4 separate regions of the Homo sapiens genome follow, and regions 1, 2 and 4 are each linked to region 3. Evidence: promoter capture Hi-C in 16 types of primary human blood cells and fetal thymus (Javierre and others, 2016). All regions are on one chromosome and are shown on one strand. Each heading gives the region's core, a stretch centred on a gene start or on the middle of the fragment in contact. The rest is flanking DNA. Distances are from core to core; before and after follow the strand shown. Region 1 has its middle 5.7 kb from the start of ZNF566-AS1. Region 2 has its middle 17 kb from the start of ZNF331. Region 3 holds the start of ZNF234 (zinc finger protein 234). Region 4 overlaps ZNF566 (zinc finger protein 566).

The links. The method cuts DNA at HindIII sites, captures the fragments that hold promoters and counts their contacts. A CHiCAGO score of 5 or more calls a contact.
Region 1: a contact is called between a fragment that was not itself captured here and the fragment with the promoter of ZNF234 in region 3, in 4 of 17 cell types (non-activated CD4 T cells, activated CD4 T cells, naive CD4 T cells and 1 more). The highest score is 9.6, in non-activated CD4 T cells.
Region 2: a fragment that was not itself captured here is called in contact with the fragment with the promoter of ZNF234 in region 3 in 3 of 17 cell types (non-activated CD4 T cells, naive B cells and activated CD4 T cells); the score reaches 11.7 in non-activated CD4 T cells.
Region 4: a fragment that was not itself captured here is called in contact with the fragment with the promoter of ZNF234 in region 3 in 1 of 17 cell types (non-activated CD4 T cells); the score reaches 6.6 in non-activated CD4 T cells.

The regions. Positions count from the first base shown.
Region 1 is chr19:36,493,982-36,496,693 of GRCh38, forward strand. No RefSeq gene overlaps it. Among named protein-coding and RNA genes, the nearest start is that of ZNF566-AS1, 5.7 kb to the left of the region's middle. The HindIII fragment of the contact is 1,705 bases long and covers 542-2,246 here.
Region 2 is chr19:53,519,692-53,522,391 of GRCh38, forward strand. It overlaps a transcript of ZNF331 not described here. Among named protein-coding and RNA genes, the nearest start is that of ZNF331, 17 kb to the right of the region's middle. RefSeq lists enhancers at 33-807, 808-1,581, 1,072-1,271, 1,582-2,355. The HindIII fragment of the contact is 293 bases long and covers 1,294-1,586 here.
Region 3 is chr19:44,140,140-44,142,839 of GRCh38, forward strand. It overlaps ZNF234 (zinc finger protein 234), which reads left to right and starts at 1,415. Exons shown (of 6, transcript NM_006630.3): 1 at 1,415-1,594; 2 at 2,175-2,228. RefSeq lists enhancers at 1,443-1,842, 1,597-2,187, 1,853-1,902. The HindIII fragment of the contact is 9,485 bases long and covers 1-2,700 here.
Region 4 is chr19:36,468,659-36,471,358 of GRCh38, forward strand. The region is part of intron 4 of ZNF566 (zinc finger protein 566); the gene reads right to left. Among named protein-coding and RNA genes, the nearest start is that of ZNF566, 20 kb to the right of the region's middle. The HindIII fragment of the contact is 548 bases long and covers 1,083-1,630 here.

The DNA.
Region 1 (2,712 bases), core at 144-2,643, 7.6 Mb before region 3:
GCACAGCCCATGTGGGATCCGTATCTCTTGGTAAGGAAATGTTGCAGGTCAGATGTCATTCTTATGTGGCCACATAGAGGTAGAAAGACTGCATATATGATACTGCCTTTCCCAACCACGGGCTCGTATTCTAACATACCGCAACAATGCCCAATATTTATGGGGTCATAGAAAATAGGATTCACTATGGTTGGAGAATTTCCAGAGCCAATTTAAGTTCAGGAATGCTGGCAATGAGAATGATCAGTAGGAATCAGTGTAATGATTTACATAGTTGAAACTATCAACTGGGCCAGGCTGGTGGCTCACGCCTATAATCCCAGCACTTTGTGAGGCTGAGGTGGGCTGATCACCTGAGGTCAGGAGTTTGAGACTAGCCTGGGCAACATGGTGAAACCCCGTCTCTACTAAAAATACAAAAATTAGCTAGGCATGGTGGCACACACCTGTGATACCAGCTACTCGGGAGGCCAAGGCAGGAGAACTGCTTGAACTTGGGAGGCAGAGGTTGCAGCCAGCCAAGATCATGCCACTGCATTCAAGCTTGGGTGACAGAGCAAAGACTCCATCTCAAAAAAAAAGTTAAAATAGAATAAAACATATAGCCATTATTTTTCTGTTTGGGGCAATTTTAAAGTTTTTCTTTTGTCACAAAAACAGGAATGTACTATGCAAAGGCTTGAAATAGGCCATCTTTTTTTTTTTTTTTTTTGAGTTGGAGTTTCGCTCTTGTTGCCCAGGCAGGCTGGAGTGCAATGGCATGATCTCGGCTCACCACAACCTCCATCTCCTGGGTTCAAGCAATTCTCCTGCCTCAGCCTCCCAAGTAGCTGGGATTACAGGCATGCACTACCACGCGTGGCTAATTTTGGGTTTCTAGTAGAGACGGGATTTCTCCATGTTGGTCAGGCTGGTCTCGAACTCCCGATCTCAGGTGATCTGCCTGCCTCGGTCTGTCAAAGTGCTGGGATTACAGGCATGAGCCACTGTGCCTGGAAAATAGGCCATCTTTTTAAACAAAAAGGCAATGATTCACAAAAGTCTATGAATAGAACATGTAACTAGTTGATACAAATCTAATAGGATTTGTTTAAAATCAGTCAAATCTAATACATCTGAAGTGTTCTTGTATAAAGTATCACATGAAGAAAAGAAGAATTTATTAATGTCTTAAAAAAATGGGTTTCTTCATAGACAATATGACAACTTACCATTAAAAGTGTTTCGGGACGGCCGGGTGCAGTGGCTTACGCCTGTAATCCCAGCACTTTGGGAGGCCGAGGCGGGTGGATCACGAGGTCAGGAGATCGAGACCATCCTGGCTAACACAGTGAAACCCCATCTCTACTAAAAATACAAAAAATTAGCCGGGCATGGTGGCGGGTGCCTGTAGTCCCAGCTACTCGGGAGGCTGAGGCAGGAGAATGGCGTGAACCTGGGAGGCAGGGCCTGCAGTGAGCCGAGATCGTGCCACTGCACTCCAGCCCGGGCGACAGAGCAAGACTCCATCTCAAAAAAAAAAAAAAAAAAAAAGTGTTTCAGGAGACATAAGGAAATGCAACATTATTCTTCCTGAACACTTTTAGTTCAAGACTTTCCACTCAATAAAATAGGAAAGGATCTGAAACTGAGAAAATGTATTTGAGTACAAACAGCTTGTGAAACATAATACTTTTTTTTGCATCATCAGAGGGTTTTACTGAACTTATAACCAACTTGCCCACTCAGTATGCAATTCAGATGTGAGTGAGGGGCCGGGCGCAGTGGCTCACTCCTGTAATCACAGCACTTTGGAAGGCAGAGGCGGGCGAGTCACCTGAGGTCAGGAGTTCGAGACCAGTCTGACCAACATGGTGGAACCTAGTCTCTACCAAAAATACAAAAATTAGCTGGGCGTGGTGGTGTACACTTGTAATCCTAGGTACTCCGGAGGCTGAGGCAGGAGAATCGCTTGAACCTGGGAGGCAGAGATTGCAGTGAGTCCAGATCTCGCCATTGCACTCCAGCCTGGGTGACAGAGCAAGACTCCATCTCAAAACAAAACAAAACAAAAAAAACAGATGTGAGAGGACAGAGGTGTCTCACAGGAGCCTGTACTGTCTTCAATCCTATGTGTGCAGGTATCTACCACAGGCAAACAGTTTCTCCACATTTTGTAGTTATATGATCTTGCTACTAGCAAAAAGAGGTAAACAGCCCCTGTAGAATGAAGGGACTACAGTCACGGGACTAGAGTCACAGAATGAAGCTTTCCTCTTAATATTTTTTAATTTGATGTTTGAACTCTTTTTCTTTTTTCCTTGAGACAGTCTTGCTCTTTCGCCCAGGCTAGAGTGCAGTGGCACGATCTTGGCTTACTGCCACCTCCTGTGTTCAAACAATTCTCCTGCCTCAGCCTCCGGAGTAGCTGGGATTACAGGCGCTCGCCACCACACCCAGCTAATTTTTGTATTTTTAGTAGAGACGGGGTTTCACCATGTTGGCCAGGCTGGTCTCAAACTCCTTACCTCAGGTGATCCACCCGCCTCGGGCTCCCAAGTGCTGGGATTACAGGCATGAGCCACTGCGCATGGCCCGATGTTTGAACTCTCAATGCAGCATCCTAGAGAAGGGTGTTCGGGACCTCCTGTGCCCAAGGGACCGATAAAGAAAAAAGCTCCATTTATTATTTGGGATTTGATGCACAGATGAAAAACTTAACACACAATAACG
Region 2 (2,700 bases), core at 190-2,689, 9.4 Mb after region 3:
AAGTCTGGGACAGCATCAGAGAACGAAACGCAAAGTCCTGCCCTTACAGAGAGAGCCTTGGCACAGACCCAGTCAGGACCAGGTCACTCCCGTGGAACCTACTCAAGGTCCCTACACACATGCCTGGAGCTCCCCAATCTACTGGGGGGTGGGGGAAAGGGCAGTGCTGAAACGTCCCCAAAATCTCACATGTAAACACCCTACCTAACACTTTCTAGAGGCATTTCCAGCTCGGGGCTGTATTTCCAAGAACGCTCTGGAGGCACAGCTCTTTTCTAAGGAGGGCCATGTTGCATGCTGGGAAATTTTTGAACTTTTCCCAAATCACAGCTTTTAAGCTTTCCGGGCTTATTATTATTATTATTATTATTTTGAGACATTGTTTCACTCTTATCGCCCAGGCTGGAGTGCAGTGGTGTGATCTCGGCTCACTGCAACCTCTGCCTCCTGGGTTCAAGCGATTCTCTTCCCTCAGCCTCCCAAGTAGCTGGGATTACAGGCACACACCACCACGCCTGGCTAATTTTTGCATTTTTAGAGCGATGGGGTTTCACCATGTTGGGCAGGAGGGTCTCGAACTCCTGATCTCAGGTGATATACCCGCCTCGGCCTCCCAAAGTGCTGAGATTACAGGCGTGATTTCTGGTCGTTTCAGACTACATTTCCTTCCCAGAAGGACGCGGGGACACGCCTTCCCTATGGACGGATCCCAAATGCAAGTTGTAAGCAATTATAACTGTAGGCCCCTAGAGCCTGAACCACTTTTCCCAGGAATTTTTTGTGGTGCGCCTTAGGAGCAAGCAAAGTTTCAGGGCAGGAGAAGGCCGACAGGGCTTCCAGCATTTGAAGATTCTGCCAGTCTGAAATACGCTTTCCCAGAAGTCTATGGGGGGTGCAGCTGCTCTAACAGTGGGAGGAGACACCGACGAAAAGCATTCTGACGGCCGCGCTTCCAGCGCTAAGGATTCCCGCGTAGTGAGCATTTCCCAGAGGTCTCTGGGGCATGGCTCCATTAGGGCCGTGTGCAGTTGCCTGCAGGGAAACACTGATGGGCGCCCTTCCAGATACGTCGATTCCCGGGTTATGAGCTACATTTCCCAGAAGCCCTCAAGGCAGGACGCCCTTAGGGTCGCGTAGAGTTGCATGCTGGGAAATCCTGACAGCCGCTTCCAACTCTGTGGATTTCCGGGTTATGGACTACATTTCCCAGAGGCCTCTGGGTCACGGCTCCATTTGCGCCGTGTAGAGTTGCATGCTGGGAAACACTGACGGGCGCCCTTCCAGCTGCGTCGAAGCTTCTCTGGTTTCGCATTACATTTCCCAGAGGGCCTTGGGGCACAGTCCAATGAGGAGCGAGCCGGGTGGCCGGCTGAGGGGCGTGCTTCATGCTCGCGGGATTTTTAAAAATGGTTTCTCCTGGATCTTATCCCAACTGCGCCTGAGACCTTGTTTCACCTCCTGATGTGCTGGGTGTGGTTAGGCCTCGAGCCGGGAGCTATTTGCCTCCCAGGAGGAAGCCAGGGCAGGGTTCCGCGGGGAATGGCGGTGAGGGAGCCACTCGGGACGCGGAGGCCCTAAAATGAAGAAGCTTCGGCCTGAGGCTTCGGGAGCGGCGAGCAGGGAAGTGGGAGTGTGTGTGAGTGTGTGTGTGTGTGTGTGTGTGTGTGTGTGAATAAGCCAGAGGCTGCCTGGTGGGGCCCCGCCGTGGCCCAGTGACTGAGATAATTGTCTTCGTCTGTGGGGTAATGCGAACAAGCCCCGTTCCCCTAAGCCGTGATGCATGCGGGGTTGACGCGGCCGGGCTCTGTCCCCATAAACTGTGACACAGGTGTGTGTAGACGTCTATGAGGGCCATAGCGCCGGGCTGTAAGGGCATCTGTAGGGGTGACGCAGCCGGGCTGTGTCTCTGCACCTCCGTTCTGTGCGAGGTCAATGCTGGTGGGGTCTGCAGAGGTGGCACGGCCAGGACGGGTCTCCGTGTCTCTGAAATGTGCCTTTGCACTTCTGTCAGGTTGACAGGGACAGGCAGTGTCCCTCTGGTGTGAGCGTCTGTGGGTGTGAAAGGGCCAGCGAGTGTGCGGCTGTGACTGGTCGGGATCGGGCCTGGGTGCATGGCCTTTTGAGTGAGCACAGGTGTGTGCGACCATGTCACCTGTCTTTCTAGTGTCTCCGTTGCTTCCTGTGCCTTGGCCTTCCAGCCATGTGGTACCTGCTAGGGAGCAGTGGTCCCAAAGTGACGTGAGAGGCTCTACGCTATTGTGAAAATGACCAAGAAGAAGGCTTCACAAGTCACGAGATGGCAGTTTTGGAGCCAGAAGTGCTCTCCGTGCACACTACCTGGACGACAAGAGGAAGTAACCTCAAGAATAGAATTCCTTTTGGGGAAGAAAGAGGTACCTGACATGGGAGGCGGGGAGGTGGTGAGAGGGGCAGCTCCATGTTTCAGAACCCCAGTTCCTAGAGTTTTCCAGCATTTCTCTGAAAAACTCACATGCCTGTGCCCTCTTATTTCTGATTGATTTTAACTGTGGTCTGGGGACAAGTGTGCCCTATTTTCTTTCTTTGTTTTTTTTTTTTTTGAGACAGAGTCTTGCTCTGTCGCCCAGGGCTGGAGTGCAGTGGTGCGATCTCGGTTCCCAGGTTCAAGCGATTCTCCTGCCTCAGCCTCCCAAGTAGCTGGGACCACAGGCGCACGCCACC
Region 3 (2,700 bases), core at 165-2,664:
CCGGTGATCCAATCGCCTCCCACCAGGCCCCAACTCCAACACTGGGGATTACATTTCAACATGAGATTTGGGTGGGGACACAGATCTAAACCATATCAATAGGCCAATGTATGTTTATGGGGAGAAAAAAATCTGGTTATCTTTTTTTTTTTTTTTTTTTCCGTGACAGAGTCTTGCTCTGTCGCCCAGGCTGGAGTGCAGTGGCATGATCTCGGCTCACTGCAACCTCTGCCTCTCAGGTTCAAGCGATTCTCCTACCTCAGTCTCCCGAGTAGCTGGAATTACAGGCACGCACCACCATGCCCGGCTAATTTTTGTATTCTTAGTAGATATGGGTTTTCACCATGTTCTCCTGGCTGGTCTCGAACTCTTGACCTCATGGTCCGCCCGCCTTGGCCTTCCCAAAGTGCTGGGATTACAGGCGTGAGCCACCGCACCCAGCCCCTGGTTATCTTGAAGAAAGATTTTAGATGGGTTTTTTTCTGATTTTGCTTTATTCTATTATTTATTTGTATCAACCAATGTAAGCCAGATTCCAAATTGCTAACTATAATGACGATATTTTAACCAAAAAATATAAAGGAAGAAAATAAAATATGTTCCTTCACGTATAGGATCCTCCTTAATGCTACTGCATTAAATAAATCATAGGCATTGGGTGTCTGACATCAATGCCAAGCGCTTCACCAGTTATACTTGCTTTGAAGTATTGGGCAATTTAAGAGCTTCTCTGAAATTTGGTGTTTTTACCTCTTCAGTAGACATAATACCATGAAAAGTGTAAACGAAAGAAGATAGCTTTTCCATGAGGACAGGGCTTCCCCACTGGCCCTCTCAAATGATGATTGTTTTTCCTGCCAAACCAGTGGTACCACAGCGTCTGGAGTAGGGGCTGGCACCTTCTTTGTTCTTCATTGCCTCTCCCAAACCATTGTACTTGCTCACTCTTCCAACTTTTAGTTTTGGCCTCATATTATCAGTTTATAGTAATCAATCATCAATCATCTACTGACCCCTAAAAAGTCATTCCCCATTTAGTCCTTGAAGATTGTATCTCCTCGCTTGTTCTCTTTCCAATAATCCTCCGTAGTCCTGGGAGGCGTTTAGACTTCAGGAATTGCTGTCTATTCAATATTTTCGCTCAAGGACTCAGGCAGAGGGAAGGACGACTCTCAGGGTCACAGTCCACATTCCCTACCAAGCGCTCAGCGATATAGGATTCGTTCCCCATGGGCAGTGCGGGAATCGTAGGCAAGGAGCACCGCGGAGTCCCATCGCTTTTCCCTGAAGGGTGAGATTCTGAACGTTTTTCCCTCAGCATTCTGAGTGTAATCCAAACGCTCAGTGGAGTCGTGGTCCATTTGACCCACGCAGGGGGATCCGGGGAATTCTGGGAAATGTAGTCCCGCCAATCAGTGGAGTCGCGGGCACTTCCGCTCCAGGGAAGAGGGGGCGATTGTCACGGCACATTCCACGGTAGTTTCTTCCAGTTCCGCGACTCGCGGGCCCCTCCTAATGTCAGGGACTTAAGATTGGGGCTCGCTGGGACCTGGTGGTCCGGTTATGGGAAAAGAAGCCTCGTGGGAGAGCAGAGGTTTGGTGGGGCGAGGGCGGCGGCTTTTGTTGTGTCAGCGGAGCCTTCTTGGGCTGGGGCTCCCCTCGTGTCCCGCGGCGGGAGGCGGGGGGCATTGGGACTTGGTTGGGTCGCGTCTCGCCTGGTTTGAGGGTTTCCGGGGCTCTGAGCTCGCCCACTCCGCCTCCCTGCACTCCAGGCGCGCAGTCACTTTTTTACAGTGCAAGGTTGGCGTGTTAATCTCCCTGGGCCTCTCCTTGCTGTTCTTTAAAATGGGGACGTTAGGACCATCTTTGTAGAATCGTTTTGGTAACTGGAATAGGTTACACAACACAAACAGTCCCTGTCACTTGGTGAGTGGTGGTTTCTTGTTACTTTCCCACGAAACCTGTTAGGTCCCCCGGTGGGGTCAGAGCTCCAGCAGCAGGGGCCTCAGCCCTTATCTCTGATCCCTGCAGGACGCTGGACGATCCCGGACGCCTTCTGACCTCTTTTTAGGCAGGCGAGGGTTGCGTCCACTTCCACGAAGGGAGGGGAGCATTTAACTTTTCTCAGGGACAGCGACCCAGTCAGGATGTTTCACAGCTTTCTCCTTCCCCAGCCTGAAAAAGGACTGCGCGGACTGACTTCTTGGCTACTGAAAGCAAAGCTCCACGTGAGTGTGACTTGTCATTTTTCTTTTACAGAGACTGTATCTTTGTAGCATGTGTAATAGGGCATGGGCATTTATAATAATTAAGCCTTAATTGCTAACTTCAATTCTAGGGGATTTATACAATTAGATACGTTTAAGCCGCAACGTGACTCTGTGGAGAGGTACTGGTCATCCAAGTAGTAAGAGGTGAAACTTGGGTTGGAACCTAGGCATTCAGGGTCAGAGCCCGAGTTGATCATCTCTTGGATATATTCTCATTGAGGCAGAGGAACTAGCTGTACTCAGGTGGGGAAAGTAAGTTAGAACTTGATTAAAGGACCTTAAGAGCAAGGCTAATTGCCTTGGAGTTTTCTCAGTTTTTAAAAACTGTCAACTATTTTGTTTCATTTATTACAAATATTTCACATTCTAATAGAACCGTATCACTGTGAAGCATTCAGAAATTACAGAAATACGAAGATACAAAAATTGT
Region 4 (2,700 bases), core at 107-2,606, 7.7 Mb before region 3:
ATCTCAGCCCTTCTGGAGCCTGAGTGGTGGGATCACTTGAGCCCAGGAGTTCCAGACCAGCCTGGGCAACGTGGCAAAACCCCGTCTCTACAAAAAATACAAAAAATTAACCAGGTGTGGTGGCATGCATCTGTAGTCCCATCTACTCAGGAGGCTGAGGTGGGGGGATCACGTGAGCCCAGGAAGTGGTCAAGACTGCAGTGAGCCGTGATAGTGCCACTGCCCTCCAGCCTGGGCAAGAGTGGGACCCTGTTTCAAAAAAAAAAGTAAAAGCACCCTCTGGGAACCAATAGACAGGTAAATGTTATTATTTTGCAAAGTCCATAAAAACTGAAAAAATCAACACAGTAATAGATTAAAAGTATGAAATATAGAAATGAACAAGGTAATTATCATGCTATGGTGAAAATGTACACTCTTACAAGTATTCAATATAATGACAATAAAGCAGTCCAGTATACAAAGAAATCACTGTAAAATTTATATAACTTTGCATTAAGGTTATATAAGGGAGAAAGTATCAGTATTTTTTAGAATTACATGAGATTATGCAAGGGTGAAATGACATGAAGTCCTGGATTTACTTGAAATTATTTGTGGTGGGACGCGGTGGCTTACGCCTGCAATCCCAGAATTTGGGAGGCCAAGGCAAGTGGATCACCTGAGGTCAGGAGTTCGAGACCAGCCTGGCCAACCTGGTGAAACCCCATCTCTATGAAAAATACAAAAAAATTTGCCAGGCATGGTGGCGGGTGCCTGTAATCCCACCTACTCGGGAGGCTGAGGCAGGAGAATTGCTTGAACCCGGGAGGTGGAGGTTGCAGTGAGCCGAGATCACGCCTTTACACTCCAGCCTGGGTAACAAGAGCGAAACTCCATCTCGAAAACAAAGAAAAAAAAGAAAATATTTGTGCGACAATAGGGGTAGATTAGTGGCATGTATTTTTGAAAATTTTCACAATGAAAAGCAACATTCTACGACTTGTAAAATAAATGAGCGAAAACATTTATTTAAAATAAAAATTAACCATTCTTAAAGAGTACAATGAAATGAATACTACCAAACACTGTGAGTGTCTGAAAGCTTCAGAAATATCTTGTCTCTGAGAATCTATCCTAAGCAAATACAGAAAAATCTATATGCGTAAAGTGTGCTTTTACATAAAGAATGCATATATGCATAAAGAATGGTACTTTTACAAACAAGCATTGATTAGAAAGCAGCTTAACTATGTAAGTATAAGTACTCGAACTGCACTAAAAGAAAAAAAAAACAGAATTATATGAGAAAATGCATGTAGAAACTATTACATACCTATCTAATCTTCATGGCCAGATCTTTTTGGTACTTTTCTTCCTGAGTTCCTGAGTTCACCTTCTATCCTGCTGTTGTTCAACCTACATTTCCTTGCCATACCTTCTCCTGCTGTAAACCTCTAGGTATCAGGGTGCTTCAGGTTTCTGTCCTTGCTATATTTATTCCCTAGGGGATTTCATCCAGTCACAAGACTCTATATCTCTACATTGAAGGCTCTCCAAATTTTCCTCCAATGCTGATCTGACCTCCCAGTTCCAGACTTCTATACTGAGCTGCCTGCATGGCATCTATGCTGCGTCCAGTAAGCCCTGAAGCTTAACATAAGCAAACCCACCCTTGATTTTGCAAGCCCCAAATCTACTTTCCCCATTTCAGTAATTACAAAGCCCATTCTTCCACAGGCTCTCCCTAAAAAGCATGAATCCTTTTTTTTCCGCTTACACTCCAAGACTGAATCCTGCTAACTCTTCCTTGAAAAGATTTCAAACCCACCGCTTCCTTCCACTGCCACTGATAACATTTCAATGGTCTCTGAGCCATCACTGTATCTCAACCAGACTACTACAAAAACCTGCTAAACAGCCACTCTGCTTCCAATCTTGCCACCTACAAAGCAGCCAGGGAAATCTTTTTAAAATATATGTTGCATCAAGGACAGGCGCAGTGGCTCACACCTGTTATCCCAGCACGTTGGGAGGCCGAGGTGGGAGGATCACCTGAGGTCAGGATTTCGAGACCAGCCTGGCCAACATGGTGAAACACTGTCTCTACTAAAATACAAAAATTAGCTGGGCATGGTGGCGGGTGCCTGTAATCCCAGCTACTCGGGAGGATGAGGCACGAGAATCGCTTGAACCCAGGAGGTGGAGCTTGCAGTGAGCCAAGATCATGCCACTGCACTCCAGCCTGGGTGACAGAGCAAGACTCCATCTCAAACAAAAACAAAAACATGGCCGGTGTGGTGGCTCACGCCTGTAATCCCAGCACTTTGGGAGGCCAAGGCAGGTGGATCACAAGGTCAGGAGATTGAGATCATCCTGGCTAACATGGTGAAACCCTGTCTCTACTGAAAAAAAAATACAAAAAAATTAGCCGGGCATGGTGGCACGCACCTGTAATCCCAACTACTCGGGAGGCTGAGGCAGGAGAATCGCTTGAACCTGGGAAGCGGAGGTTGCAGTGAGCCGAGATCATGCCACTGCACTCCAGCTTGGGCGACAGAGCGAGACTCTGTCTCAAAAAAAAAAAAAAAAAAATAATGAGTTGCATCAAGCCATTTCTAGGTGCACAGCCTTCTGATGACTTCTTGTCTTAGAATGAAAAGATTTCCCATGGCCTGTATGGCAGACAGTACATAAACTGACCCACTCTTTCCCACTCCT